2 separate regions of the Homo sapiens genome follow, and region 1 is linked to region 2. The links are contacts of gene promoters, found by promoter capture Hi-C in blood cells and fetal thymus (Javierre and others, 2016). All regions are on one chromosome and are shown on one strand. Each heading gives the region's core, a stretch centred on a gene start or on the middle of the fragment in contact. The rest is flanking DNA. Distances are from core to core; before and after follow the strand shown. Region 1 overlaps BACE2 (beta-secretase 2). Region 2 holds the start of LINC00479 (long intergenic non-protein coding RNA 479).

Region 1 (7,528 bases), core at 2,947-5,446, 440 kb after region 2:
TTACACATGGCTGTCAAGCAAGTTTCTCTTGGCCTAATTGTTCCTCTGGCAAATAATCAATCCTGAGAAGTTCCTTTACAAAATACCTAAAAAGTAGACTGTGCCAAAAACGTGGGGTGAAATGAGGTGCCCACGGCATCCTGGGGACGTTCTTGGCTGATGCGGACCTCCGTGCCCCACTGCCAACTGAGGGGTGGGACCTCTCTTCTGGCTCCTTCTTGCCCTGCCCTCTTTTCAGATTCTGGAACTTCCCAGGTCCCAGCCATCCTGTACTCTCCATCCGTTGAATGAACCAATCCTTGCTCCGCGTGGGCAACACCCGGGCCACCCAGCCACAGTCTCTCTTTGTCAAAGCTGTCACTTACACATGACTCCCGCTTGAATATTCCTGAAGTTTGGAATTGGTGGATCTGCAAAATAAATCACATCTCCAATGGATTCAGCCACTTTAAGGGGAAAAGAAATCTAAGGATGGCTGGAATGAAACTGCATTTTCTTTCCTTTTTTGAGACGGAGTCTTGCTCTGTTGCCCAGGCTGGAGTGCAGTGGCGCAATCTTGGCTCACTACAACCTCTGCCTCCCCGGTTCAAGCGATTCTCCTGCCTCAGCCTCCAGAGTAGCTGGGATTACAGACAGGCATCACCATCGTTGGCTAATTTTTTGTATTTTTAGTAGAGACGGGGTTTCACCATGTTGTCCAGGCTGGTCTCAAACTCCTGACCTCAGGTGATCCACCTGCCTCGGCCTCCCAAAGTGCTGGGATTACAGGCACGAGCTACCGTGCCTGGCCTAAACTGCATTTTCTAAAAAAATATGTACTGCTTATTTTGTTAGCATACTTTTAATTATATTCTTATTCTTTCTACCCCTCTCAAAATGTATTTTTCCAGCTTGCCATTTAATTGGTAAACAGCTGTAAAGTTCAAACGTGAAATTCTTAAAGCTCCCTAGAGACATACACAATAACTTCTGTGGCATGGACTTTTCTCGGCATTAAAAAAATCTAGTACCTCTCTTGGCCAGAACCCCTAATTTTACACTTTATGGTGTTGCGTCGTTTTTCAAAAAAAACAAAACAACAACCAAAAAACTTACTGGCAAGTTTTTCCTCCAAACAGTTTTCTAATCAAGTCTAATAAGTTTGTGCAAGAGAAAACACATGGGGATTCCACTCCATTATTTGATTTCCACTAATCAGGATAAAGTCTGTGAAATTCAATTACTGTTGTTTGTGGAACAGACTGTTGAACAACGATTTATTCCCAATGATATCGAGTGGCACTAGTCCAGAACTTAGAACTGAACCACACGTGGCAGCTCCACCAAGCAGGGACAGGGAAAGAGGAATTTAACAAGTTTGCACCCGGCGTATTAAATAATTAAATCCCTCTTCACCTCTTAAATGAAATGATGGAATCCCCAACTCACAATTGCTTTTCAAAATCTATTACCCAAAGCACTGCGGAGTCACTAATGCTGTCTTCCTGGGAACTACTTTCACAATTTTGAACAGTAACTGACCCCAAATTTATCTCCAACCAAAACCTCTGTGTTTCACCATGAATCAGGCAAGGTCCTTCCAAGTGTTCAGAAGTGGAACCTGTTGTGGAAAAACACTCCCCTCGGTCACACACAGGGCATCTGTTTCTTGAGTGCTAAGTACTTGGTTTTGGTTCAGGAGAAATACAAAATAGTGTACAGTATATGCTGGGAGATCGGACACCAATCACTTGTGGCTCTTTCAAATTCCCAAGAATAAAAATAGAATTGGTCCCCATCTTGTTTCTTGCTATTTTTAATAAATGGTTTCAGTTACTGAAGGCAGGATTTATTTCAGACTTCCAAAGAAGTTATCAAGGAAATAAAGCAGCATCTATTCATTTCCCATCAGACTTGACAAGGTTTCTGATAACAACCTAATGCTAAGTTGCACCTTTTCAGGCAAGGACCGTCTTCCAGAATTTTCCACAGTGTATTACAAGGTAAAAATGACACCCTCAAAGGGTTGTTAATTCCTTTCCTGTTCCAAGCAAACCTCCTTGAAAGCTTGCCAAGCTAAGCATCAATTTGCATAACTGGAGGAGGTGGGTGTCACTAACAGGGTTTTGACTGGAAGTCCGATTCTCAGCAGCAAGACATGCCAGAAAAATGTCCCACATTCAATTGTCTATCTCATTCTTGTTGCGAAGTTATGCTTTTGTAGTTTCAGTATTTTCATCAAAATGTCACATCCAATGACATGCGATATGAAAAGATAAAGAAATCTGATATGAAATACAGAGCATGACGGCAAACTTCATTCACCTACTCTACCTGGAAACCTCACTTGTTACTTTCCTGTATTTTAAGAACTATGCCTGTTCATCTGCTGCAGGAGGAAGCTCCCCGCCTCTGAAACCTAACACAATACAACGGAACAGAAGATGCCTGTATGAAGAAATAAGCAGGAAAACTAATCAGGGCATGTCTGCGATTCCCTCCTCTTATTTCAGGGCTTTGAATTTTTCACAGCAAGGGTGAAGGCACAATCTAGGGGTGTTGGCTTCACTCCTGTGCAAAGCGGCCCACAAAACAGCAACCACGGAAAAAGCCAATGGGATGAGAATTGGACTTCCAGACATCTCTCCGTGTGAAATGCATTCTGAGATTATGAGTTTTCAACAAGCTGAGAGCGGATGTGACAACGGGCCCTGATACAAGAGCCCCCTCCTCCCGTTCCGTGCCGTCATGTTCTTTCCAAGAGGCTGCAACTCAAATCTTCTCTAGTGAAAACAGCACAGAAGGTTCTTCTGGCTGCTGGAGAGTCTTCCAGGACACCATGACAAGCCGACGTGGCCTCCACGTCTCTTTGGCAGAGTCCTATATTTCTCAGTATGGTGGTGACCCGGGGACCCAGGGAGCAGAGCAGATGGCTGAAACATCCACACGTAGCCTACTGTGAATACAAACGATACTTCTGCAGGAGGGGACACTTAGCACTTTTGGTGGAATTCTGTAATATAGCCAACCCACCCCAAAAAAATGCAAAGGGAACACTGAACTTGGCACACAAGCAGGAGAGAGGGGATACTGTCTTTTAACTCTTCTCCTAATGACATCAGGTCATATAAGGCTATGTCAAGGAAACGGCTTCCACTTTTCTTTGGCAAAGGCCTCGATAAGTGACAGAAAGTAGGGACTGCCCCCCGAAATAAGGCTACCACTGCACAACTGTTACCAAAGATTAAACACCCCCAAAGGAAGAAGCACAGAGGTCAACTGCTGAACAATTTAAGCTGATTGGATGGGTATGCTTGAGGCTAACCAGTTCTGCAAAGGGAAACACACGGTTTCGAAGCACGGGGATAAGTAGACGTTACCTTGTGTCTTCTGCACATCTTGCATCTTCCTTCCCTGACAGCTGGTCAGAAATAGGGGCATCAGGCCATTTCCCTGTTTCCCAACAGGGTAATAGCCAACCTACTTCCAGAGAAGATTTGGAAAAAGAGACAACTAAGCTAGTGAAATAGAATAGTTTTTTCTCATCAAAACATGATTTATTAATTTTAAGCAAGAGTAAGCATATGTGATAGTGGCCAGCTTGGGGATAGAACTCTTCCTGGTTGATGCACAGTTCAGCACCTGTTGGGTCTTGGCTGTTGGGATGATAATTCTTTTGGGTGAGGGGAACAGCCGTGGTCAAGGCTGCCTGCACCCCCATCCAGGCACAGGACCCTGGGCAAAGTCTCAAAAGAGGTAGTGTTTTTACTTTCGCACCAACAATACAACATAAGTATTGGGTACAAAAGAGGAGATTTCCTTCCCCTCTACCTCAACGGGCAAAAGGCCTTCCATCTTCAGAAGAGGCTTGTGAGGACCATCGGTTGATGACCTCCTAGTGAATTCTGGCTCCCATTCAGAGCACAGAGAAACCCACAAAAGGGGCCTGTGGCTCTGGTTCCAGGTCTCAAGGGTACAGCTTGGTTACATCCCCAGGCCCCAGGCTGATTCTCCTGCCATCATACTGCAAGCCTTCCTGTACCACTTTGACCCAGGTTGAGGTCTGGCGGAAAATAACCTCAAAGGCAATTAATACAAAAAGCTTCCTGTAAGCTAAGAGGGGTTATCAACTATATGTACTTATTTTTCCAGAGATTGAAGAGAGAAGAGAACGAGCCAAGGCTTGGTTTTGTTTTATGTTGGTGGCACATGTAGACACTTTGGCATAACGAACCCCATAGAGCCTGCAGCCCAATCCACTCTGTTTTGGTTTAGAATGAAGTTTTTTTTTTAATTATTTTTCTTGGAAGTAGGGAGGATTTGAAAGCTTGAAAATCAAGAATCAAAAGACAGTGAATCTAGAAGGCATCTGGGAGCAGAACAGAGATTGAAGACGGGTGGGCACAGGAGAAAGCGCCACCATCGATCCCGGCTGCTGCCCTGGAAATGTGATTTTCTTAATAGCTGAGTTCATGGTTGCTTGAGGTCAGGCCTGGCTATTCATTTCCAGCGATGTCTGACCAGAGAGGACTCATCATTGACGACCTCAGGGTCACGGGGGCGACGCTGACACCGGAACGGCAGCAGCAGCAGGACGATTAAGACAAGGAGGATGGCTCCACAGACGCTCATGAGCGCATAGGACACAATCCACAAAATGGGCTCGCTCAAAGACTGAGCGGGGACACAGTTGCTGGCTACATCCTCTGTTGAGAAAGGCCCGGAAATTTCAGACACTGCAGCACCTGCAATTTCTGGGGAGACAGAAAGGGAAAATCCACAGCTGTGAAATGAGCGGTCCACCTCTCACATTGGACACAGACAGAACCCCTTGGTTTATTAAACCACAGTTAAAGTCCACTGAGGTCCCAGTGGCTTAGACAGCTCAGGAAGCACTGAGTGGGGTCACGGCTCAGCGTGCCTTTGGGGGTCCAGTCCCTGCAAACTGGAACGACGGCATGTTTTAAGGTGTGTGGGTACCGAGCCTAGGTGTGGAGGGGAACTGCAGCAGGGCACATATGGAAGCACCCTGTGCTTCATGGAATGCCAGCGACACTGCGGTACTACACAGGTGAGAGTGCAGGTCAGCACCTGGTCATGACAGCTGTGTGGGTTGTGCTTCCTCAGTGGAGATGAAAAAAGAGGAGAAAGAGAAGGAGAATTTACCGCAGAAAGCTCAGCTGGACCTGCCTACGTCATGGGGAATTTTCCCCAGTGGAGTCAACCTGAGTTCACTCCCTACCATGGATTCTACAACAGATAGGGACCTCATATCAACCTGACTCATAGTCTTAGTGGGTTGTGAGACCTCCGGGGGTCAGGCTGGCTTGAGAGACCCTCCCTGCCCCACTCTTATCCTAGGTCTCATCAACAGCCAGGAGCAGTAAGTGAATGCAACACCTAATTCATGACATCACTGGTGACAAAGAGAAACAGTTAAAATTCACCCGGTGACTTCTGCTAGAGACTCTTGAATAACTTCAAACCAAGAAGGAAGTTGAGATGATTTCTTAAAGCCGGTTTGTGGATTATCTGTAGACTTCCTTTGCCTACACTAGGCTTCTCTGCCCCTTTCAGGAATATGGGATCTTAAGCTTTACTTGCAATACGGAAAAGAAATAGGCCTCATTACCCATTTTTCCTATATTTAATCACAGAAATGAATATTTTGGCACCAGAAAATAACACTGCTAAGAATTTGATTTTTCTGTAACTAAAGCCTCAAGATCTTCAGAGCTGCCAAATAATACCCTTTTTGACTGAGGAAAGAAAAAGTCAAAATAACAATGCGATAATGACCTGAAAAGAATGGTTTTAAAATCAGAGGAAAACAGGCTTGATTACTTTGCAAAGTGACTGCATTTTCTTGCTAATGTGGATTCTGTCATAATATGGCTTTCCTAAGTGCACTGAAAAAGAAAGGCAATGAACAAGAGCCTGCCAACACCGAGAACAGAGGGATGCACCCTGCAGTCAATCTATACTCCCATTTCCTGGTTTGTAGATAATGATCTTCTTGCTGTGTCTTTACATGGTGGAAGAGACAAGGGAGCTCTCTTGGACTGTCTTTAATAATGGGCAGTAATTCCATTTACAAAGAAAAGCTCTGCCCTCGTGACCTAATCACCTTCCAAAGGCCCCAACTCCAAATATCATCACCTTGGAGATTAGGTTTCTGTTGCGGGAAGTCAGGGACCCCGAACGGAGGGACTGGCCAAAGCCATGGCAGAAGAACATAAATTGTGAAGATTTCAGACATTTATTAGTTCCTTAAATTAGTACTTTTATAATTTCTTACGCCTGTCTTTACTGCAATCTCTGAACATAAATTGTGAAGATTTCATGGACATTTATCACTTCCCCAATCAATACTCTTGTGATTTCCTATGCTGTCTTTACTTTAATCTCTTAATCCCATCATCTTCCTAAGCTGAGAATGTATGCCACCTCAGGACCCTGTGATGATTGTGTTAACTGCACAAATTGTTTAAACAATATGAAATCTGGGCACCTTGAGAAAAGAACAGGCTAACAGCAATGTTCAGGGAACAAAGGAGATAACCATTAGGTCTGGCTGCCTGAGAGCCGGGCGGAACAGAGCCATATTTCTCTTCTTTCAAAAGCAAATAGGAGAAATATCGCTGAATTATTTTTCTCAGCAGGAACAGCCCTGAGAAAAAGAATGTGTTCCTAGGGGTAGGTCCCTGAAATGGCTGCTCTGGCAATGTCTGTCTTTTACGGTTGCCGATAAGGGATGAAATAAGCCCCGGTCTCCCATAGCGCTCCCAGGCCTATCAGGACAAGGAAATTTCCGCCTAATAAATTTTGGTCAGACCAGTTGTCTGCTCTCAAACCCTGTCTCCTGATAAGATGTTATCAATGACAATGCGTGCCCAAAGCTTCATTAGCAATTTTGATTTCGCCCTGGTCCTGTGATCTTGCCCTGCCTCCATTTGCCTTGTAATATTTTATTACCTTGTGAAGTATGTGATCTCTGTGACCCACACCCTATTCGTACACTCCCTCCCCTTTGAAAATCACTAATAAAAACTTGCTGGTTTTGCAGCTCAGGGGGCATCACGAACCTGCCGACATGTGATGTCTTCCCTGGACACCCAGCTTTAAAATTTCTCTCTTTTGTACTCTTTCCCTTTATTTCTCAGACCGGCTGACACTTAAGGAAATAGAAAAGAACCTACGTGAAATAATGTTGAATTATCGGGGGCAGGTTCCCCCGATAGGTTTCAACATAAGAATTTTGGCAGGACATAAACATTGATTCTACAGCACTAATTATGCAAAGAAGCAGGAAAACACAGTTCATAATAGGGAGCAAAATCAATCAATTGGAACTTAGTAAGAAATGGCACAGATGATAGAATTAGCAGGCAGGATATCAAGATATTTATTATAACTGTATTCTACTCAGGATGCCAGAGAAAATGTTAAACATGTTAAATAGAGACACGGAAGACATTAAAGATCTAAATCAAATTTTTAGTGATAAAAATTATAATATGTGAGATGAAAAATATACGGGATGGTTGTA
Region 2 (7,488 bases), core at 329-2,828:
CCGTCGAGACCCTGATGGAGGAAGGTGCTCCCCAGTGAGGCCGAGGGCCCCCTTTTCAGACATACAGTGGCACCTTGTTCCTCTGGGCTGGGTCTTTGCGGTAGGCCAGTGTTGTTGTCGTGGGCACCTAAGTTGTGGGCACTGGAGGGATGGAGGCCTTTAGGCTGCACCAAGTTACCTGCCTCGGCTTCTGGTTCCTCAACTATAAAACCAGATGGTCAGAGTAGGGAGCCTCGAGGGTCCCGTCCAGGTCTACAGGTGGATAACCTGTGCGCAGAGGCCACACTGTGAGAGAAGACCTGGTGGAGGATGTTTCCCGTGTCACAGCTGCAAGTAGGAAGAGTGTGAATCCCTGTGAATCGGCAGAGAAGAGCAAGGGGAGGGTTCAGGTGTAGGTGGGGGCGGGAGGGAGGATTAGGGGGAGGTGGTGTCAGTTTCCCAAGGCTGCTGTAATGAATATCCACAGACTTGGAGGCTTAAACAACACACACTGTCTTATGGTTCTCAAAATCAGAATGCTGAAATGGGTCTTGCGGGGTAAAATCTGTGAACAGTCATTTCTTCCCTCTCCAGGCCCTGATGGGGGAAGGGGCTCCTGGGCCAGTGTCAGCAGGGCCGGGTTCTTCTGGAGGCTCAGGGGAGAAGCTGCCTTCCTGTCTTTTCAGCTTCCAGAGGCCGCCTGCACGCCTCAGGGTCCCCGCAGCAGACCACATCACTCCAACCTTCGCTTCATCCTTGCATCTCCTCCTCCGCCTCCCTTCCTCCCTCTCATAAGGACCCTAGGATGACACTGGACCCCCCGACTGACCCAGGAGAATCTCCGCAACATGTGGGGAGGTGGAGTGATTGTGCAAAGCAGAGTGAGGTGGTGTTGCTGGAAGACTCGAATCACATCTGCAGGATCTCTGCGGAAGCTCTGGGGATAAGATTTGGCATCTTTGCAGTGGCCGTTATTCTGCCCACCGCAGGGGCCCCCATCTGATGATAGAGAAAAGGCACATAGAAGATGCTCGGAAACACGTGTTGAGTGAAAGAGTGAGTGGCTGTGTGGAGCCGAGACTAGGTTGGTCTGTGCAGGAGGTGTAACAAGAGCTGCATCTTGTATTTCTGCCTGCCTTCCTGCCTCTGCCATTGACTGGAGGTCAGCAGGTCTGACAGTTCCAGAAATAGAACTTCTGCTCTGATCTGATCCACACGAAGGTGAAGGTCAGGTGCAGGATCCTCCGCCCCCACCTTGTGGTTTCTGGGGGTGCTGAGCCAGGGCCCCACCTCTGCCCTGGGGGACACCCCCTGCCAAGTTTGCTTGGAGGCTCCTTTGAGCTCAGGCACGCCCAAGAGCCAGAAGGAGAGGACTTGTAAAGACAGGGACTGTAACCCCAGGCAGGCCTGTGTCCTGGCCCTTAGGGAAGGAATAATGAGTAGACTATTGTGTAAGAAAGATGAGAATCAGGCAGATAAAGGGCCCAGTGAAGCTGCCTGCCCCACTCCCTACCCCCAGGACTGAACCTTGGACCCCACCTAACATTCCAGCTCCACTGCGGTGCCCTGGTCTCCATGACAACCGGGAATCATTTTACAAATAGAAGATTGTGGATCCCTGGGAACGCAGAGGTGAGGAAGTCTCAGGAGTAAAGGTTTCATTTACGGCACCTTGGTGCGAAGGTGTCAGGCCAGGCCTTGGAGCCAAATTCTATGCAGAATGACCAAGTGCCGAGAGCAGAAAACACGGGCTATGTTCCTGACCCTTTGCCTGTTAGCCGTGTGGCTCTGGTTCTGGAGTGAAGGGAGCAGCAGGATGCTCTGGGCCTTAAGTGACAGAATTCCTAACTCTCTGAGACCAGAGCAAGGCTTTGGAAAGGCTGGAGGGAAGCCATTAAGTCGGTGAGGTTTTCCTGGCTTGCCCCATGGAGGCAAGATGGCTGCAGGGACTCCAGGCATCACGTCCATTGAGGACAACATCCAATGCACAAAGGAGGGCAGGTGGCAAAGGGGCTTCTCCTCTCACAGCTCTTTATCACAAACTGCTGCCTCCTCCAGCATCCCTCAAAGACCGCTTTGTTTCCCATCAGCAGGAATGCGTGGCAGGAAGGAATCTCCCAGGGATTCACAGTTCACCCCTAAATCAATCCGTGGGGCCCGAGGGGCAAAGTATCTGAGTGACCCAGCCCTCAGTCTTGTGTCCGTTCCTGAGAAGGAGCTCAGCCTTGCCCCTCAGGAGCTGCATGTACCAAATGTGAGTGTGTGTGTGCCTGAGTGTGCCTCTTCACCTCAGTGAGTGTGTCCATGTGTGAAAGCAGATGTTTGTATGTGCACAGGTGTGTGCTGTGTGCATACAAAGCGGGGGCAGGGCATGTGGGGATGTTGTACCTGAGCGAGTTAGAAAAACGCCACACTTTGAGATGAATTAGGAGTCCTCTATTAGCTGGCAACCAAGAGACAGCTAACGCTCAAAATTCTCTTGGCCCCGAGGAAGGGGCTTGATTAACTTTTACATCTTGGTTTAGGAAGGGGAGGGGGGTCTAGTTAGAACAATTTTACAGAAGTTAAGTAGTCAAAAAGTTAAAAGGACAAATGGTTACAGGAAAGTAAACAGTTCCAGGTGCAGGGGCTTTAAGACTATTACAAGGTGATAGACGCGGGGCTTCGGGCGTTATCATTCGGACAAATTCCTGGGAACTGCGGATCTAGCTCGCCACAGTATCTTATCAGTTAACTGCATTCTTGGATGTGCTGGGAGTCAGCTTGCACAAGTTAAGTCCTTGAGGAAGGGGCTGCCGGTGAAAGAGCCAAGATGGAGTTTGTGTGACTCTCTCAGCTAAGGGAGAAGCAAGGCTAGGTGAATAAAGGAAAAACAAGGTTGGGCATTACACGGAGGTGGAGTGATTGTGTAAAGCAGAGTGAGGTGGTGTTGCTGGAAGACATGGATGGAGGCATGACACAGACTGTCCACTGCAAAAACCATGGACGGAGGAGGCGTCACACAGACTGTCCACTGCAAAGACCACAGATGGAGGCGTGACACAGACTGTCCACTGCAGAGACCATGGACGGAGGCAGCCTCCGAGCCAGCCCAGCAGCCATGGACGGAGGAGCCTTGGAGCCAGCCCAGCAGCTCTCCTGTGAGTGGGGCCGGCACTGTCCCCAGCATTTGTGCCACCGGTGCTGTAGAAGGGCGGGGAGACAGCACATGGGGACTTGCCATTCCCGTTCTGTTCCGCAGCACTGGAGGGGTGGACGGGACAGGACCGGCTGCTCATTCCACGCTGGAGGGAGGCCAGGAGTCTCAGCTGGATGCAGTCACCTGACCTGGAGAGTTCAAAGTGCCTAACACAGGTGCTCACCCCTCTTCCCCCTCACCCCTGTCTGGACCTGGGACATGGAGCCTTCCTCTAAGTCTGGTCTCCCCGCTCCTCCAGGAAGGTCCTGGAGGGGATGGCCTGGGATGGGCTAGGACCCGGTTCCCACCTCAGGAGGCCTCTGGCCATGGAAGTGCTAAGGTGCCTAGTATCCGTCTGTCCGGGTGACTCTGGCTTGGGGGTTGGGTGGCCTTGCCTGCGTCCAGCGACATGGGGAGGTGTGTGTGGAAAACCAGATGCCACCTCACTCACATGGCGCGGGGCGGTGGCTGGGGGTTGGAGGTGATGGCTACTGGTTCCTCCCCCACTGGGGACCATTTCCAGGGATGCTGCTACCCACAAGCCTGGATCCTGGCGTGCTCCGCGGCTCTCCTTCAAGCCCTGGCCTCATCAGACCTCCAAGGCTCCCTAGACAGGGTTAATTATTCACGTGGCCTGGGACCCAGGTACAAAGTCTTCTCCTTCCCACATCTGCAGAAGCTGCTCTTGTGGATGGGGCTCCAAGGAGGAGAGGGCAATTGTTTTATTTTAATCATTAAAACATTTTCTGGGATATACGTGTTGGTTGAAAACAATTAGAAGGTATAGAAAAGTATAAACAAAAAATTAAAGACAAGCCAGGTGCTGTGGCTCACGCCTATAATCCTAGCACTTTGGGTGCCCAAAGCAGGCAGATCTCCTGAGGTCAGGAGTTCAAGACCAGCCTGGCCAACATGGCAAAACACCATCTCTACCAAAAACACAAAAATTAGCTGGGCATGATGGCGAATGTCTGTAATCCCAGTTGCTTGGGAGGCTGAGGCAGGGGAATCGCTTGAACCCGGGTGGCAGAGGTTGCAGTGAGCTAAGATCATGCCACTGCATTCCAGCCTGGGCAACAGAGTGAGACTCAGTCTAAAAAAAAAAAAAAAAATTAAAGACAAAAAATTGAAAACCACCTGTAAGCCCATCATTCAGAGACAGGCACTACTAACAACTCATGGTGTTTCCTTCCAGGGTTCGTTTGTTTGTTTTTCCCGACACAGTAGGGTCCACGAGGAAGTCAGGATCCACCGGCAATATTTGCAGTGTTATGTTGAATGTGGCAACTGGCTGCGTGAGGATAGAGAAGTAAACAGCATGTCCGGTGGCAGTCGGTTACCACACAGAATTTAGGAGGCCCAGTGAAATGCAAATGCTAGGTAAGTGACACGTAAGTTTTTGATATAAGCATATCCCAGGCAACATTTATTTATTGGAAATTGAAACTCACATTTAACCGGCCATATTATTTTTTTTAAATTTTTTTGTTCTCTAAATCTATCTTTTGTTTGCCGAATTTCTAGCAACCTTAGATGGAGAGGTGGCTCTGAGATTAGCATCCCCACAGGCCCACCTCTGGCTGGAGAGACAAAGGGAGGTGGGGTGCTGCCGGGGAGGGAGAGCCAAGGTCTACTTCCACGCCGCTCCCAGACCTGGGGCCAGAGGCCCGCTTGCTGGGGGCTGGGGCTCAGAGGGGAGCGAGCGGCTGCTGTCAGGCTGTCTGAAAATGCTGTGCGGATTCCCCGATTTTCTCTCGCCTGGCAGGTCACCTGGCCCACACTCTCCTCCCCTGATCCCCTGAGTGCTCCCCTCCCCCTGCAGGTCCCCCTCCCCTCTGGGTGAGCCTGGATGCCAGCACCCTGTTCCGCCCGCCCAGCATGCAGAACAAAAGCACAACGCACAGAAACACAGCCGGTGCGCGCAGGGCGGCAGGCTGGCTTCTCCCTCCCTCCTGCCGAGGTCTCCGGCCCCTTCCCCCTTCCCTCCTTCCCTCCCCTCTCCTCTTCTATTAGAAAATGGGAGTGTTAGGGTTGAATTGTGTCCCCCCAAAACAGGTATGTTGGGGTCCTGATTCCCAGTCCCCTAGAATGTGACCGTGCTTGGAGATAAGACCTTTACAGAGTAACTGATTAAAATGAGGTCATTAGCAGGGACCCTAGTGCAGCATGACTGGTGTCCTTTCAAAAAGGAGAAATTTGGATACAGACATAGACACACACTGAGGGAAGGTGAAGTAAAGGGGCAAGGAGAAGACGGCCTGCAACGGGAGTGACGCCCTTACAAGCCGAGGGACGCCTGGCAGTGCCAGCTGACACCAGGAGCAGGGAGAGGCCAGGAAGCCTGGCAGTGCCAGCTGACACCAGGAGCAGGGAGAGGCCTGGAACGGTTCTCCCTGGAGACATCCGGGACACACCTTGATTTCAGGATTCCATGATAGCTTCCAGAACTGCCAAAGAACGCATTTCTGTGTTTTCAGCCACCCAGTCTGTGGTATCTTGTGACTGCCGCCCTAGGAAAGTAAAACAAGGAGTTAATTCATGAAGGGTGGGGGAAATACGTACCCTTTGAAATACCACCTAGAGGAAGGGGTAATAGTACACCCGATCATGTGCTCCAGTTTATGAAATAGTTGCACGTCACTCGGAATTTTGAAAAACAATATATTTTCAGGACTCAAAAGATTTGCTTGCTATGGACTTGTCTTGCAAAATAAAGAATCTCTTTGTAGACCACATTCATAGATGTATTTCATGTATGTTGACATTGATTTGGCTTGCTCAGAAATAGGAAACGTGAGAACTTGAATATCATGGCGTTTACAAAGCCAGTGAGGTCAGTTCCTCTCCTGGGCCTCAGGTGCAACCATTGGCCGCCTGGCCTACCTCTGGAAAGCGTTTGGAGAGGGCGTGAGTTCTTGCACCCACCCTCTGGTTTTGCAAGCTCCCTCTGCCATGGCTGGTGGAAGGCTGTGTTGGGGAGGTGGTGGAGTCACAGTGGCCTCCACTGTCAACGGTGCAGATGCCTGCTGTGGAAGGTATGATGTGCTGGATTCTGAATGCAGGTTGGGGCTATTTTTAGCATCTGGACCGGGCAGCAGGAGGCTGGGGGTGAGGCAGAGGGAGGGACAAGGCCAGCATGATTTGCTGCTAGTGGAGCTGGAGGAGAAGGCACCCACACGCTGGCTGGCCGCCCTCCTTTCCTGCTGGAGTTCCTGGTGAGTGCTTCCCCGGGGGCTGAGTTGTAGCTGTCTCCCTAAACACCTGGAAGGGTGTGGAAATGGGAAGTGACTCGAGGGTTTGGGCCCTGCGCTGCTCGGACTCGAAGGACAGATGGCCCAGACCTTGGGAAGGATGGTTCTGCCCCATCTGGTACTGGACTCCTGACTCCTGGGAGGCCTGTTGGTCGGTGGTGAGCGGCTTTGCCACATGTCATGACACATGGACATGACGCCACACTGCCTCAAGGGGCACTTGTGAAGGCCAAACTAGAAATGGATGAGCAGTGCTTAGCCCATGAGGAAGTGACACACCAGTGACAGCCTTGATGGCGGGGCCACGGGCTGAGAGGGTCTGGTCCCTTGGCTGCCACCAGCCTCCCAGGGCGTGTCTGCCACCAGCCTCCCAGGGCTGGGCAGCAACCATCCACAGGACTGGGGCTCAGCCTCTCTCCCTTTGTGGGAGCCACTGTTTTCTAAGGGTGTGGACATACATGTGGTCTGCTCCCTCCCTCCATGTTTCCTGGGCTGGAGAAGACCTGAGTCAGCACGTGAACGAGGAGAGGAGGCGGCTCTCCGCAAAGAAACCTAAACACAAGGTCTGATTCCCACTTCCCAGAGCCTCCTTCAGGGAGGCCATTGGCCCAAACCACTTTACAGTCACAGACTATTTGTGCGGAGGGAGACATTCCAGATCATCTTGCTTGATGCTTGCCAGTACATCAAGATGGTTCCTTTTTGTTGTCACTTGGAAAAAAGCTTGAAGGATAATACTCTTGGTTAAATGAACTGCAGGACTTTTCAGGGCCTTGACTAAACCCACATGATCAGGGTGTCAATAAATAGCGGTGTGGTATTCAGTATTCCACAAGTTTGTTGATTGAAACCTTTTACAATTTTATTTTCCCTTTATTTTTTAGAGATGGGGTCTTGCTCTGTCATCCAGGCTGGAGTGTAGTTGCATGATCATGGCTCACTGTGGCCTGAAAACCCTGGGCTCATGTGATCCTCTTGCCTTAGCCTCTCCAGTAGCTGGGTCTACAGGTGCATACCACCACGCCCGGCTAATAGTTTAAAAACATTTTCTGGATATGGGGTCTCCCCATGTTGTGCAGG

What was found. Contacts are between HindIII fragments. The CHiCAGO score rates a contact against its expected background, and 5 or more counts as called.
Region 1: a contact is called between a fragment that was not itself captured here and the fragment with the promoter of LINC00479 in region 2, in 7 of 17 cell types (non-activated CD4 T cells, total CD4 T cells, naive CD8 T cells and 4 more). The highest score is 8.3, in non-activated CD4 T cells.

Annotation. Positions count from the first base shown.
Region 1 is chr21:41,272,576-41,280,103 of GRCh38, reverse strand. It overlaps BACE2 (beta-secretase 2), which reads right to left. Exons shown (of 9, transcript NM_012105.5): 9 at 1-4,733. The coding sequence ends at 4,480. Among named protein-coding and RNA genes, the nearest start is that of FAM3B, 40 kb to the left of the region's middle. RefSeq lists enhancers at 1-268, 4,332-5,531. The HindIII fragment of the contact is 225 bases long and covers 4,084-4,308 here.
Region 2 is chr21:41,709,865-41,717,352 of GRCh38, reverse strand. LINC00479 (long intergenic non-protein coding RNA 479) reads left to right here and starts at 1,578. Exons shown (of 6, transcript NR_027272.1): 1 at 1,578-1,611; 2 at 2,070-2,233; 3 at 3,001-3,119; 4 at 3,221-3,333; 5 at 3,681-3,802; 6 at 4,353-5,833. It overlaps LINC00112 (long intergenic non-protein coding RNA 112), which reads right to left and starts at 917. Exons shown (of 3, transcript NR_024028.2): 1 at 809-917; 2 at 179-352; 3 at 1-11. The HindIII fragment of the contact is 7,368 bases long and covers 1-7,133 here.